Regions from separate parts of the Homo sapiens genome. Here all the other regions are linked to region 3. Evidence: promoter capture Hi-C in 16 types of primary human blood cells and fetal thymus (Javierre and others, 2016). All regions are on one chromosome and are shown on one strand. Each heading gives the region's core, a stretch centred on a gene start or on the middle of the fragment in contact. The rest is flanking DNA. Distances are from core to core; before and after follow the strand shown.

Region 1 (2,700 bases), core at 180-2,679, 340 kb after region 3:
GAAGCTGGGTGCAGTGGCTCACGCCTGTTATCCCAGCACTTTGGGAGGCCAAGGTGTGCAGATCACCTGAGGTCAAGAGTTAGAGACCAGCCTTGCCAACATGGTGAAACCAAAATACAAAAGAATAGCCAGGTGTGGTGGCAGGCACCTGTAATCCCAGCTACTCGGGAGGCTGAGGCAGGAGAATTGCTTGAACCTGGGAGGCAGAGGTTACAGTGAGCCAAGATCACACCACTGCACTCTAGTCTGGTTGACAGAGTGAGACTCCATCTCAAAAAAAAAAAAAGGATACGGAGGTGAGATCCAGGACTTTTTCCCAAAAAGCTACTCAGATCGTTCTTATGTATAGTTAAGTCCAGTAGCCCAGTGAATGGAATCTATTGCCCTAATATCTGATTCTCCTTTAAAAATGTAAGTTGCTCATTCTTCCATGTTAAAGGCACTTACAGTAGAGAAAGCGGTGTCTCCTGTTTCTCACTGCTTTTTCAGGCCATTATTCTCACTACTGAACAAAAACTGCTTTTTTTTTTAATGTGGGTATGACCTTTGGCTACTCCCCTTTCAAATGTTCCCAGCTTTCTTTTCTTTTTTGTTTTTTTGAGACGGAGTCTTGCCTCCCAGGTTCAAGCAATTCTCCTGCCTCAGCCTCCCTAGTAGCTGGGATTACAGGCATGCAGCACCATGCCTGGCTAATTTTGTATTTTTAGTAGAGACGGGGTTTCTCCATGTTGGTTAGGCTGGCCTTAGAACTCCCGACCTCAGGTGATTGGCCCGCCTCAGCCTCCGAAAGTGCTGGGATTACAGGCAGGAGCCATGGTGCCCGGCCTATGTTCCCACCTTTCTACCCACTATCACATTTCCCCACAGGCATCAAAGACTTTGGGTTGGCACTGATTTCAGTTTCTCTCTTTCCAAGCTATTCTGTGTGTCTCATATATAAATGTACATCCCAATGAATGCTCACAAAGTGATCACACCCAGATGAAGAAATATATTATCAGTACCCCAGAACCCCCTCCTATGCCTCCTAAAATTGCTCACTACTCCTACTCTACAAAAATAACCTTCATCCTAACTTAAATTACAGATGGGTTTTGCCTGTTTTGTATTTGTATAAAAGTAGTAACAGAGTATGCTCTTATGCTCTTCTTCTTTGGTCAACATTATTCATGAGATTCATCTATATGGCTGTATATAGAAGTATCTTATTCATTTTCTTTTTAAATATTTTTCTTTTTTTCTTTGAGACAAAGTCTTGCTTTGTCACCCAGGCTGGAGTACAGTGGCACAATCTTGGCTCACCGCAACTTCCACCTCCCAGTTTCAAATGATTCTTGTGCCTCAGCCTCCCGAGTAGCTGGGGTTACAAGCGTGCGCCATTGCACCAAGCTAATTTTTTCTACTTTCAGTAGAAATGAGGTTTCGCCATGTTGGCCAGGCTGGTCTTGAACTCCTGGCCTCAAGTGATCCACATGCCTCAGCCTCCCAAAGTGCTGGGATTAGAGACATGAGCCACTGCCTCATTTTCATTATTATTGTGCAGCATCCATTTATGAATATATCCAATTTATTTCTTTATTCTATTGGAAAACAATTTGGGTTGCTTCTAGCTTTTGGCTATTAAGAATAAAGCTATACAGCCAGGCGCGGTGGTTCACGCCTGTAATCCCAGCACTTTCAGAGGCCGAGGCAGGTGGATTACGAGGTCAGGAGTTCAAGACCAGCCTGGCCACAATGGTGAAACCGTCTCTACTAAAAATACAAAAATTAGCTGGCCGTGGTGGAGGGCACCTGTAATCCCAGCTACTCGGGAGGCTGAGGCAGAATTGCTTGAACCCAGGAGGCAGAGGTTGCAGTGAGCTGAGATCGTGCCACTGCATTCCAGCTTGGGCAACAGAGCGAGATTCAAAAAAACAAAAAAACAAAAAACCAAAAAAACAAAAAAACAACAAAAACCATGCTTCTGAAGTTCACATAGAAAAAAAACCTCATAAAAAGACAGACGGATCGGTGACAGGTTCTTCTCCATTTGTGCCAAGCCATATGGATCTTGCTAAAATGTCACACTTATATACTTGAGTTCATTACAGCATACTGCCTGTATGCATTATCATGACACTCAAGGCCCTATTATAGTCTAGTCTCAAACTACCTTTCCAGAATATTCTACATTTTCACATCCTTCACTTTGTTACAAATTACATACCGATATTTACCATCACAAAATCTTGTAATGATCAGTGCTGGATTTTCATTTAAAAATTATGCTCATTCATTCTTCTAACATCTGTGGTCCAGGTGCAATAGCTCACGCCTATAATCCCAACACTTTGGGAGGCTGAGGCAGGAGGACTAATTGAGGCCAGGAGTTGGAGACCAGCCAGGGCAAGAGAGCAAGACTCCGTCTCTATAAAAAATTAGTTGGGCGTGGTAGCATCTGCAGACGTCTTCTTATGAGAACTGCTTTTAGTTTATTCAGTTATTTGAAGTTAAATGAAAGACAATTTATGTTAAAAAAAATTTGTGCTAAAAAGGTTTTAAGTATCATTCTAATCCAGATTATTGGCTCATTGAATCCAGTGAGTAGGAAAAATCTAGTTTGTATTTGCTGGGGGTGTGTGTGTGTGTGTGTGTGTGTGTGTGTGTGTGTGCACGCGTGTGTTTTAAGAGACAGGGTCTTGCTCTGTCACCCAGGCTGGA
Region 2 (2,700 bases), core at 43-2,542, 300 kb after region 3:
TCAGTCCTTGGCATGACTTTATATAGAACCAAATGAACAATTGAGAAAAAAAAGGTGAAGTTTTGAAAGAAGGACATATTTGAAGGGGTTTACTGAAGCAGGGAATGACAGAAAAGGAACATTTTGATTAGTAAGTGTTACACTTGAAAAAATTCCCTAAAATATAGTATTACTTAGATCAAAAGGAACACCTCTTTCTGAAGGAGCAGCACACAGCAAGACAGAAGGGAACCACTAGGTACAGTAAAATCATTTGAACATCATAGAAATTTACCCAAGTTACCAAATTATCAGAAACAACTGTCTGTACTGACAAGCTGCATAACTGAGCATTCCCCCCCACACCCGCCCCCTGTTGCTGTCAGTGTGCATCATTTCCTTTCCTTCTTTTGAGATGGAGTTTCATTCTGTCACCCAGGCCGGAGTGCAGTGACGTGATCTTGGCTCACCACAACCTCTGCCTCCCAGGTTCAAGCGATTTTCCTGCCTCAATCTCCCAAGTAGCTGGGATTACAGGCGCCCGCCACCACACCCAGCTCATTTTATTATTATTAGTGGAGGTGGGGTTTCACCATGTTGGCCAGGCTGGTCTCGAACTCCTGACCTCAGATGATCCACCCTCCCACCTCGGCCTCCCTAAGTGCATCATTTTCTTTTTGATTGCAAGTTTCCATCTGTCTTTTTTTTTTTTTTTTTTCTTTTTTGAGACAAGAGTCCTGCTGTGTCACCCTGGCTGGAGTGCAGTGGTGCAATCTCGGCTCACTGCAACCTCTGCCTCCCAGGTTCAAGCAATTCTTGTGCCTCAGCCTCCCAGGATGCTGGGATTACAGGCGTCGGCCACCACGCCTGGCTTTTGTGTTTTTAGTAGAGACGGGGTTTTGCCATGTTGGCCAGACTGGTCTTGAACACCTGACCTCAAGTGATCTGCCTGCCTTGGCCTCCCCAAGTGCTGGGATTTACAGGTGTGAGACACCACGCCCAGCCCCATCTGTCATCTTAACAGCAATTAGTAAAGAACACTTTTTCTATTGTGCTTTAGGGAACCTCCTTTTGCTTGGCCTAGGAATAACCTTATGGAAGATCCCTTACTTACATTTAAAACAAGTCACATTCTTTTCTGAGAGCCCCAACTGTTGAATATGTTTAGTAAGAAGCGCTCTTCCCTGGGCAGTTGGTTGAGCCTGCCTCTTATGCTGAGCTGTAGGATGCTGCCCCAGTCACGCAACCTCCAGATGAAGTGTGTCCTCTCCTCATTGTGCAAACAAGGGCCCTCACACACAGGTTCTATTTGATTTTTATAATCTTGCTTTAGGACCAGGGAAACAAATGTGAAAAACTGTCAAGAATGATACACATTTGGGGAAACCATTTTCCAAATGAGTAACTGGAGTTTAACTAAAGATGATGAAAAAGTTGTCCCTGCTAGTCATTACATTGAGTAGTATGACAGCTACAGGATTAGGGGTGGCCAATTAAGCCAAATCGAGTTGCTACGGGTTCACTAGGTCAAATGAAACCCAGTGGGAGGTGAGCCTATGCAGCAGCCTTTCCCAAATGCACACCAGGAGACACTGACTGACCTGAAGGTCTCGGGCAAGGACTCTGGCCCGCAGGGTCTGCAGAGCAGGAATGGAAGGGAGACTCCCGGTCAACATGCCAGCCAGAGAAAAGGATTTTAGAAAGAGAGCAGCCCGTACTACTGATGTCCCAAACTACACTGTGGCTAATCTTACCATTTGCTCTTAAGCATCCCTAAGCAGAGTTCTAAAACTTCTATAAATCTAGACTATGAAGGCATGTATTGGTAGATGTGAGAATGAGAGGTAGAATGAGGAGAAATCTAAAAATATTACCACATAAAAATTCAAATGAATATGCAAAAAAGAAAATAGCTCTTGGGGTTTTCTATTTCCCAAATTTTTCTAATCTTATCACCTTTATAATTCAAACATTTAAAAAACTAGATAAAAAAATTAAAAATGGCTCATTTTCTGAATTCTGGTTTTAGGATTAATTACACTCATGTTTTACATTCAATAAAATGTGTGTTTTACATATATACATTTTTAAATCACAGCACTTCCAGCTTCCACTCCGGGATGTAGGGGTAGAAGGAGCATTTCTTCTACTCTTACAATGCAAACGAGCCAGATGAACTATAAATTAGGACATTTTTTCGAATCCATTGGAAAGCTGAGGTTGCAGAGTAACCAAGTGGCACCAAATGGAGAGGGGCAGTTGCCTGCAAGGGGAGAGAAGACATTAGCACTAGTTTCGTAGGGTCGTTGTAAACAGACACTGGAAAGAATAGGCTAGCTAAAAGTGATGATTGGTGAAGGCAGAATATGGGCTGCAGGAGTGTTAAGACCCGGGGGCCTGCAGAAACTAGGGGAGTCGCCCTATCTTGCAGGCTTTTTCTTTACAATCTCTACCAGGGGCTCAGAAAATACTGTAAAGAGCCCTAAGAAGTGTCGGCTGTGACACACACCCAGGGGAGTATACAGCGGCCTTGGGCATGGGTAAAGGAACTTACCATACCCTTTCTCTCATCTCACAGAACAAAAGCACCCTATGAGGGAAAAGGAGCACAAATACTGTTGCCGTCTGGACACTGGTGAAAAGTCACTGCAGCAGAGAGAAGGGACTATGGAAGAAAAGCCCCATCCCAGAGGAGGGGGCAGAAATATCACTGGGCCCACA
Region 3 (2,700 bases), core at 169-2,668:
CTCCCTGAAGATAGTATTTATGCATCCACTGAGCGCTCAAATATAGACCATATTAGAAGTTAAGCAATGGGTTGAGTGGCCAACCACATTTTGGCCAGTCCTACAAGACTTTCTTTGACCTACCAAATGGGGTATAAATGCTTCTCGTATTCTCCCCGCCAGTAGGGACTCAAAATCTTAATAGCTCGGGGTAGTAAAAAGGATGCTAGGTTTGAATCTTGGCTTTAAGAAAACTGTGCTGAGGTGTTTTGTTTGTTTGAGACAGGGTTTCACTCTATCACCCAAGCTGGAGTGCAGTGGCGTGATCATAGCTCACTCCCAGGCTGAAGGGATCCTCCCACCACAGACTTCTGAGTAGCTGGGACGACCGGTGCATGCCACCATGCCCGGCTAATTTTTTGTACTTTTGGTACAGACAGTGTTTCGCCATGTTGTCGAGGCTGGTCTCAAACTCATGAGCTCAAAGAGATCCACCTGCCTCGACCTCCCAAAGTGCTGGGATTACAGGCACGAGCCACTGCGCCCGGCCAGCTTTTTTTCTTTTATCAGAATTGATATTAAACTATATGCTGAGCTTCCATGTCCTTATCTTCCTTTTGGCATGGCTATGGCCATTTGAAATGTGTGGGATTTGCTAAAGTGCTCAACATACGTTGTTTCCTTTTTTAGATCTAAGTATGTAGAGGGCTCTGATTTGCAATATTTAGAAAGTTCTTCTAAGCTGGGAAGAAAAGTCAAGACTAAGAATCATTGCCAACAGGGCCGGGCGCGGTGGCTCACGCCTGTACTCCCAGCATTTTGGGAGGCCGAGGCAGGCGGATCACGAGGTCAGGAGTTCGAGACCAGCCTGGCCAATATGGTGAAACCCCTTCTCTAATAATAATACAAAAATTAGCCGGGCATGGTGGCGTGCGCCTGTAATCCCAGGTACTCAAGAGGCTGAGGCAGGAGACTCACTTGAACCCGGGAGGCGAAGGTTGCAGTGAGCCGACATCGTGCCACTGCACTCCATCATGGGCAACACAGTGAGACTCTGTCTCAAAAAAAAAAAAAAAAAAATCGCCAATAGGTAGGGAATAAGTTACCCCCTGCTAAATAAGTTACACTCACCTAGGCAAGGAAGGAACTCATAAACCACCTTCTAAACTGCTTGCCTTCCTCCCCGAAGTTCTGTAATTTAGAGGCGGTCACTACCACTGCTTGAACACCCCTTCCCAAGTCTGTACCACAAAAGGAGCTCTTGTGTAGCCCAGCCCCTCCTTCTCAGGACCCCAGGAGCCCAGACACACTAATGGGGACATTAGTTGCTTACTTTTCCAGCTACTGCTTAAGCTAGGCAGGCCATGAAGAAATAACGGTCTCAGTAACCTCCATGCTCGGGATACGACTCCCGGGAAGACGTGGGTGGGTGCGGGGAATGCGGACTGATCCCTCCCAGCGGCCGTTGGGGGCTGGCCCACAATCCCTCGCGAGGGCGGGAAAAGCAATGTGGTCGTTGCGGGGGGGGGGGGTCAGAAAAGGGGGACGGTCAGCGGGAAGAGCCAAGAGACTGCAACTCTACAAAGAGCACGCAGATTAATTCTAATGATTGTTCCCTGAGCTTTTCACACCAAAATAATGGTAACTGGCTAGTGTGTGCCCGTTACGCTCACTACTCCCACTCGAGATCATTCCTATTAATGACTCTGAGGCTTCACCTAACAGGCCACGGTGGAGGCAAGGAAATGTGGCGTGGAGAACCCACTGGGCCTGGCTCTCCGTCCTATGGTCTCCGTCCATCGTTTTACAGTCAGGGTGTACATTTGATGAGGAATCTCTAAATGGGATTTTGGGGAATCAAAACGGAATGGTGCATAAGTGTGAAAATTTACAAGACTGCGCAAAGCTGCAAGGCCCGGAGCCCCGTGCGGCCAGGCCGCAGAGCCGGCCCCTTCCGCTTTACGTCTGACGTCACGCCGCACGCCCCAGCGAGGGCGTGCGGAGTTTGGCTGCTCCGGGGTTAGCAGGTGAGCCTGCGATGCGCGGGAAGACGTTCCGCTTTGAAATGCAGCGGGATTTGGTGAGTTTCCCGCTGTCTCCAGCGGTGCGGGTGAAGCTGGTGTCTGCGGGGTTCCAGACTGCTGAGGAACTCCTAGAGGTGAAACCCTCCGAGCTTAGCAAAGGTAACGACTCCTGATGGCAAGCTGAGGCACACCGGCCGCCGTCAGCGCCGCCTCAGTCTTCGTTCTCTCGCCTCGGCCTTCAGCCCAGTCTCCGTTAGATTCTGCTTCCTCCCACGTCCATGTTTACAGCGTGAAAGAGCTCCTCGACTCCACTTACAAGTTGTCTGAATGGTTAGGAGAACTGTGGTCGTGAAAACATTTACTAATTGCTTTTCCTCTGGCAATGCCTGCTGAATGCTTTGAGGATTGTCTCATTTAACCCTCAACCCGCTTACGTAGATTATTATATTCAGTATATGGATGAGAGAACTGATATCTTGGGGAGCTTAGGTAACTTTTCATGCTAACTGGGTTAGGAAATACTGGAGTCAGAATTGGTTGTCTAATTTTTGCTGTTCCAAGATCCAAGGGGTAAGGGTTAAATTTCAGAAATGCAGGATTTTGTGTAGGACTAGAGACACTAAGAATGAGAAAGAGAGTAGAATCCCCGGAATCTTGAGGAAGCATAGAAAGAATATTCTCTTACGTAATTAACTGA
Region 4 (2,700 bases), core at 167-2,666, 280 kb after region 3:
CAGGCATGTTAGAGAAGGAAAACATTTAGTCTCATTATTCTGAATGACAAATGCAGTGGAGGAGAAAGGATGGGCAACAATGATGCCAGGAGATTGGTTCATTTGAATCATGCTATACCCAACTCCCATAACTGTTCTGTGTTTCTGTTGACAGGACCAGGAAGAACAAGCTTACTTTGCAGTGTTTGATGGCCATGGGGGAGTAGATGCTGCTATTTATGCCTCCATTCACCTCCACGTTAACTTAGTCCGCCAGGAGATGTTCCCCCATGATCCTGCTGAGGCCCTGTGCAGGGCCTTCCGGGTCACTGATGAGCGGTTTGTGCAGAAAGCAGCCAGGGAGGTATGCCCCTTTCTCATAAGTTCCAGCTAGAAATGTACTAGCTGAGCTCAATTTGGTCTGTGTGGTTAAAGGGCTATTTAGATTTTCTCTTTCTGGGCAGACATTATCCAAACTGTATTCTTGACTCACAGTATTGGATTCTGTTGTAGTTCCAATTCCCTCCTCAGGAAGAGTTTCAGGGGGTACAATGAGGTACTGTATAGAAAATCTCAAGCTGTAATTTTCTGGATTCATTTCTGTAATAACTGCTGGATTTGGCAGGTGAGTTTCATCTTTCTTTTATTCACCATTGCCTGTCAGGTTCACACCAGGACCATCTCTCTAAGCAGACTCTTGCTGACAAGATCTGGATATGGTGAATAAAACAATGGTCTAAAAAAGAAACAGAAACTGGGATTACTTCCATACATTTGGTTCTAAATGGGTAGGCAGTGTTTTGCTGTGTATCTCTTGAGGGAAAATTCGCTTGGAGAGGGTGAATCCTTAAATGATCCTTGAGCTGATTTTTCTCTTAATAGGGAGAAAAGAAGAGCTCATGTCCTACATTGCGAAGGTTAATCAGACCTAAGTTTTTTTTACTTTGAATAAATGGCAAGGGCTCTATATTAAGGTCTAAAAGTAAAAAAATTAATCTAATTATCGTTCTGGGTATTGGTACATAATTAACTACAGTGTTCTATATTGGATTTTTAACTGGGGACGAATAAAAGAATTTTTAATTTTTAAAAATAATTACAGAAGTAGATACAGACAAAAAATAAGACTCCTGCCCTGTGACTTAAACATTAACTCTTTTTAAAATGGGCTTGGAGAGATCAGGGTAATCATTTAATCCATTTTTTGATAGCATAGTTATGCTACAAGCAATAATGGGGCTTAGAATTAATGAAACAATAACTCAGACCTATTTGGTATTAAGAAAGAGAATTATTCTTCATCTCTCCCCTCCCCTAAGTTTGGATTAATATGCAAATCCAACAGTAACCAGTAGAGTCCACACAAAGAGGTGGGTCTGGAGAATAAAGCCACTCTTGACCTCAGAGCTCCAGTCTCTTGAGGACCTGCATTCTGCTTGGCTCTGCCTCTCTTGAAGCTGTGGGCTTTTATCATCTGAGTCGAGGACAAGGGCCGGCCCCTGAGAGGTGACCCGTAATCATCAATGTGAAACAAAGAGATTCACTCTGTCTTCTTCATCCTCTATTCTATTCTTTTTTTCCTCTGTCTTCTCAAAATTATGTGTTGTTGTTGTTGTTGTTGTTTTCTGACCATGTTTACCTCATTTGTTTTGTCAGTGACCCTGGTGTCTCTCAGTTCTGCCAATAGTTCTGAATAATTTAGGTTTGTCTCAGCGCCCCTTTTCTCCTTCTTATGCTTCCATGTGCTGCTAACTGCTGGGAAGAAAACAGCTATTCCTGTTATGAAGCAGCCCTGCCTCCTGTTCTCTCCAGGGCATATGCACTGAAGTGTGTTTATCATGTGTTCTAGGGGGCTGAGTTTTTGAACATTCTGTGTGGGAAGACATTTTATTGGTGGGTGAGGATTTATAACAAACTTTCCCTATATAGGGAAAACGAGAAGTTGTTTTTCTCATTGGATACAAGAGACCTTTTACCACCCCTGACGCATTGGTTCTAATTTAGGCCAGGTCCTTAGTAACAGAAAGTCATGCTCATTTGGTGGTGACTCATGTCAAATGGGGATGTCATTTTCGTATAGTAGGACCAAGAGCTTTAAGTACAGTCGTAGCTACTGCAGTGAAATTCCAGGCTGTTAGTTCTTTATGCAATGTTCCAAAAGCAAAGACCCCTAAAAATACTGTAGGAAGGATATTTTTTTAAAGGTATAAGCATCTTAGTACTCCAGGGAACGTAAGCTGTCTCTTGGCCCCTTAGCTTAATTTCCAGAGATTAGAGCATCTGTTGTGTACCAATCAGATGTTTTATATATCATTTTATACAGCTAGGACTCTCCCACTGAACAAATACGATGTCAGTAATGAAATGGAGAGCAGAATATAGAAATTTTTACTCTGAGGATTGGTATAGAGGATTTAGTGCTTGACTGGGAGGAAAAAGAATTTCAATTCTGTCTTATATACTAATAGTTACCTGCCCTTGGGCAAGTCACATAACCTGCCATAGTTTTCTTATCTATATTTAAAGTGGAATTAATAATCATCCTCGCCCTGCATATCACAGATCAGGTGGACTTATGTGTGTATATACACATAAATACATACATGCATATACAAATGCATTGAGACAATGAATTATTATATATGTGTGAAATTCCATTATTAATAGTATAGCTCCCAGCTGAAAAGCTTAATTATAAATTGCTTCTCAATAAGAATGTAG
Region 5 (2,754 bases), core at 246-2,745, 420 kb after region 3:
TGTGGGAGACTACAGGTCACATAAAAGCAGTCTCAACAATAATGTGACCACATGTGCAATCAACATTTACAAAATGAAATTATATATCATGTATAACACAAATGTTTTGCCTATACTTTAATTTACAAAGCCACATACCGAATGACTGAAATGTACATAAACATTCTTTTATGATAGACCAGAACATCTATATTATCATGACTTAGAAAAAGAAAACAGATGCAAAATAGTGTTGAGAATTTCTGGCCTGAAATTACAAGACTAAGTGTGTGTGTGCATGCGTGTGTACATATATTTAAATCGTTTTATTCTCATTTGATCCTTTTGGCTGAACTTTATTCATATATTATCTGCCCTTCTTCTTATAATCTCTCTCATGAAAGATATCATTATCCAGTCATTGAAGCCAAACCCCCTTCACCAGCCCCCAATCTCTAGACATCAAGGGTTAACAAGACATCTTCCTAAATTTCTCCGGAATTAAGCTCTTCTCTGTTAGAATTTCCTTTCCAAGTCCATTTCTTCATAAATCTGGCATGTGAAATTTGAATTGCTCTGCCGCAGTTTTCTCTTCTTTAGTCAGTGGTGACAGCTAGAAAATAAATGATAAAATCTTTATTTCAAAAACTTTCAAAGACTTAAATCAGTTTAGTTAACTTCTGCATTGTCACACCAATAAATGTTTCCCTAAGCTTATACTATGTATGTAATCACAGATTTAGAAAGGCAAGGGAAAAAACAGATACTTGGCTATTTATATACAAGGTCCTATGATGTTTGAGCTTCTAAAGAACTTGCAATTAAGTTGAAGAAACAAGACCAAGAAATCAAACAATTTAAGGATTATAGCAGAACCAAAGAAGTCATGTTTGGATGCCATATTCTAAAAGTACAGTCAACCCTCAGTATCTGTGGGAGATTGATTCCAGGATAACAAAATCCACAGATGCTCAAGTCCCTTATATAAAACTGCGTAGTATTTGCATAGAAACTATACATATCCTCCTGTATACTTTAAATCATCTCTAGATTACTTATATACCTAATACAATGTAAATGCTATGTACATAATTGTTACACTGTATTGTGGAAGGAATAAATGATAAGGAAAAAAGTCTACAGATGTTCAGTACAGATACAACCATCTAATTTTTTTCCAAAATTTTTGTTTTCTATTTTTGAAACGGGGTCACTCTGTCGCCCAGGCTGGAGTGCAGTGGCACAATCATGGCTCCCTGCAGCCTCAACCTCCCATCTCAAGCAATCCTCCCACCTCAGCCTCCCGAGTAGCTAATTTTTAACTAATTAGTACACTAATTTTTAGCTGGGCATGGTGGCGCACACCTGTGGTCCCAGCTGCTCGGGAGGCTGTGGTGGGAGGATCACTTGAGCCTGGGAGGTCGAGACTGCAGTCAGCCCTGATGGTGCTACTGCACTCTAGCCTGGGCAGCAGAGCAAGACCTCATCTTAAGAAAAGAAAAAAGAGGCCGGACGCGGTGGCTCATGCCTTCTAATCCCAGCGCTTCGGGAGGCTGAGGCGGGTGGATCACTTGAGGTCAGGAGTTTGAGACCAGCCTGACCAACATGGTGAAACCCCATCTCTACTAAAAAACACAAAAATTAGCCAGGCATGGTGGTATGCACCTGTAATCCCAGCTACTCAGGAGGCTGAGTTGGGAGAATCCCTCGAACCTGGGAGGCGGAGGCTGCAGTGACCCAAGATCGCACCACTGAACTCCATCCAGCCTGGGTGACAGAGCAAGACTAAATCACACAAAAAAAGAAAGAGGCCGGGCACAGTGGCTCATGCCTGTAATCCCAGCACTTTAGGAGGCTGAGGTGGGTGGATCACCTGAGGTCAGGAGTTTGAGACCAGCCTGACCAACATGGTGGAACCTCATCTCTACTAAAAATACAAAAAAATTAGCTGGGCATGGTGGCAGGCACCTGTAATCCTAGCTACTCGGGAGGTTGAGGCAGGAGAATTGCTTGAACCCGGGAGGTGGAGGTTACAGTGAGCCAAGATTACGCCATTGCACTCCAGCCTGGGCGACAAGAGTGAAACTCTGTCTCAAAAAAAAAAAAAAGATAAAGGAAAATGTATTATCATTCCACAATAACTTCAGAAAAAGGAAAGACTTCTGGGCTGACTTATTTAGCAACTGAACAATGTAAGGACTCCATTTTTTCCATCTCACAGCTCTAATATCCTGGATAGTGCCTTTACCCTCAAGCTGACAGCAAATGGCTTTAACGGTGCTAGGTATCACAACTCTACACAATGTCCAGAAGAAGAAAAGAAGCTTTCTCTTCTCAGGGTTCTCTCAGCAGTGAGTAAAGTCTTCCTAGTAACCTACTTCCAGACTATCCTTACTCACATGTCATTTGGGTTACAAACCCATTCCTCAACCACTGTTAGTTAAAAAATAAAGTCCATTCCCTATGCCAATCAGATGCACCCCTGGAGCTGAGGATGGGGCCAGATTCATCTCAGGCACATCGCTATGAGGGACAACACACATCTCAAGAAAGTCAGTATAGTCATGTGTCACTTAATGACAGGAATACGTTCTGAGAAATGCATCGTTAGGCAGTTTCATCGTGTGAACATCACAGACTGTACTTACACAAACAGGGATTGTATATATACACTCAGGCTATATGGTATAGCCTACTGCTCCTGGGCTACAAATCTGTACAGCATGTTACTGTACTGAATACCGTAGGCAGTGGTAACACATGGTATTTTTATAT

The links. Contacts are between HindIII fragments. The CHiCAGO score rates a contact against its expected background, and 5 or more counts as called.
Region 1: a fragment that was not itself captured here is called in contact with the fragment with the promoter of TEX14 in region 3 in 3 of 17 cell types (M1 macrophages, M0 macrophages and activated CD4 T cells); the score reaches 7.7 in M1 macrophages.
Region 2: a contact is called between a fragment that was not itself captured here and the fragment with the promoter of TEX14 in region 3, in 8 of 17 cell types (endothelial precursors, megakaryocytes, monocytes and 5 more). The highest score is 7.1, in endothelial precursors.
Region 4: a fragment that was not itself captured here is called in contact with the fragment with the promoter of TEX14 in region 3 in 1 of 17 cell types (endothelial precursors); the score reaches 5.0 in endothelial precursors.
Region 5: a contact is called between a fragment that was not itself captured here and the fragment with the promoter of TEX14 in region 3, in 1 of 17 cell types (M1 macrophages). The highest score is 5.1, in M1 macrophages.

The regions. Positions count from the first base shown.
Region 1 is chr17:59,033,834-59,036,533 of GRCh38, forward strand. The region is part of intron 17 of TRIM37 (tripartite motif containing 37); the gene reads right to left. Among named protein-coding and RNA genes, the nearest start is that of TRIM37, 72 kb to the right of the region's middle. The HindIII fragment of the contact is 4,005 bases long and covers 1-2,700 here.
Region 2 is chr17:58,985,826-58,988,525 of GRCh38, forward strand. It overlaps a transcript of TRIM37 not described here. Among named protein-coding and RNA genes, the nearest start is that of TRIM37, 120 kb to the right of the region's middle. The HindIII fragment of the contact is 3,205 bases long and covers 1-2,700 here.
Region 3 is chr17:58,690,627-58,693,326 of GRCh38, forward strand. TEX14 (testis expressed 14, intercellular bridge forming factor) reads right to left here and starts at 1,419. Exons shown (of 32, transcript NM_031272.5): 1 at 1,313-1,419. It overlaps IGBP1C (IGBP1 family member C), which reads right to left and starts at 1,419. Exons shown (of 2, transcript NM_001395966.1): 1 at 1,313-1,419. It overlaps RAD51C (RAD51 paralog C), which reads left to right and starts at 1,976. Exons shown (of 9, transcript NM_058216.3): 1 at 1,976-2,162. The coding sequence starts at 2,018. RefSeq lists enhancers at 1,734-1,833, 2,164-2,333. The HindIII fragment of the contact is 6,974 bases long and covers 1-2,700 here.
Region 4 is chr17:58,969,385-58,972,084 of GRCh38, forward strand. PPM1E (protein phosphatase, Mg2+/Mn2+ dependent 1E) reads left to right here. Exons shown (of 7, transcript NM_014906.5): 4 at 155-343. It also overlaps a transcript of TRIM37 not described here. Among named protein-coding and RNA genes, the nearest start is that of TRIM37, 140 kb to the right of the region's middle. The HindIII fragment of the contact is 2,496 bases long and covers 169-2,664 here.
Region 5 is chr17:59,111,754-59,114,507 of GRCh38, forward strand. It overlaps SKA2 (spindle and kinetochore associated complex subunit 2), which reads right to left. Exons shown (of 4, transcript NM_182620.4): 4 at 1-592. The coding sequence ends at 524. LOC124904039 (a long non-coding RNA gene) reads left to right here. Exons shown (of 2, transcript XR_007065864.1): 2 at 2,201-2,754. Among named protein-coding and RNA genes, the nearest start is that of TRIM37, 6.3 kb to the left of the region's middle. The HindIII fragment of the contact is 1,611 bases long and covers 691-2,301 here.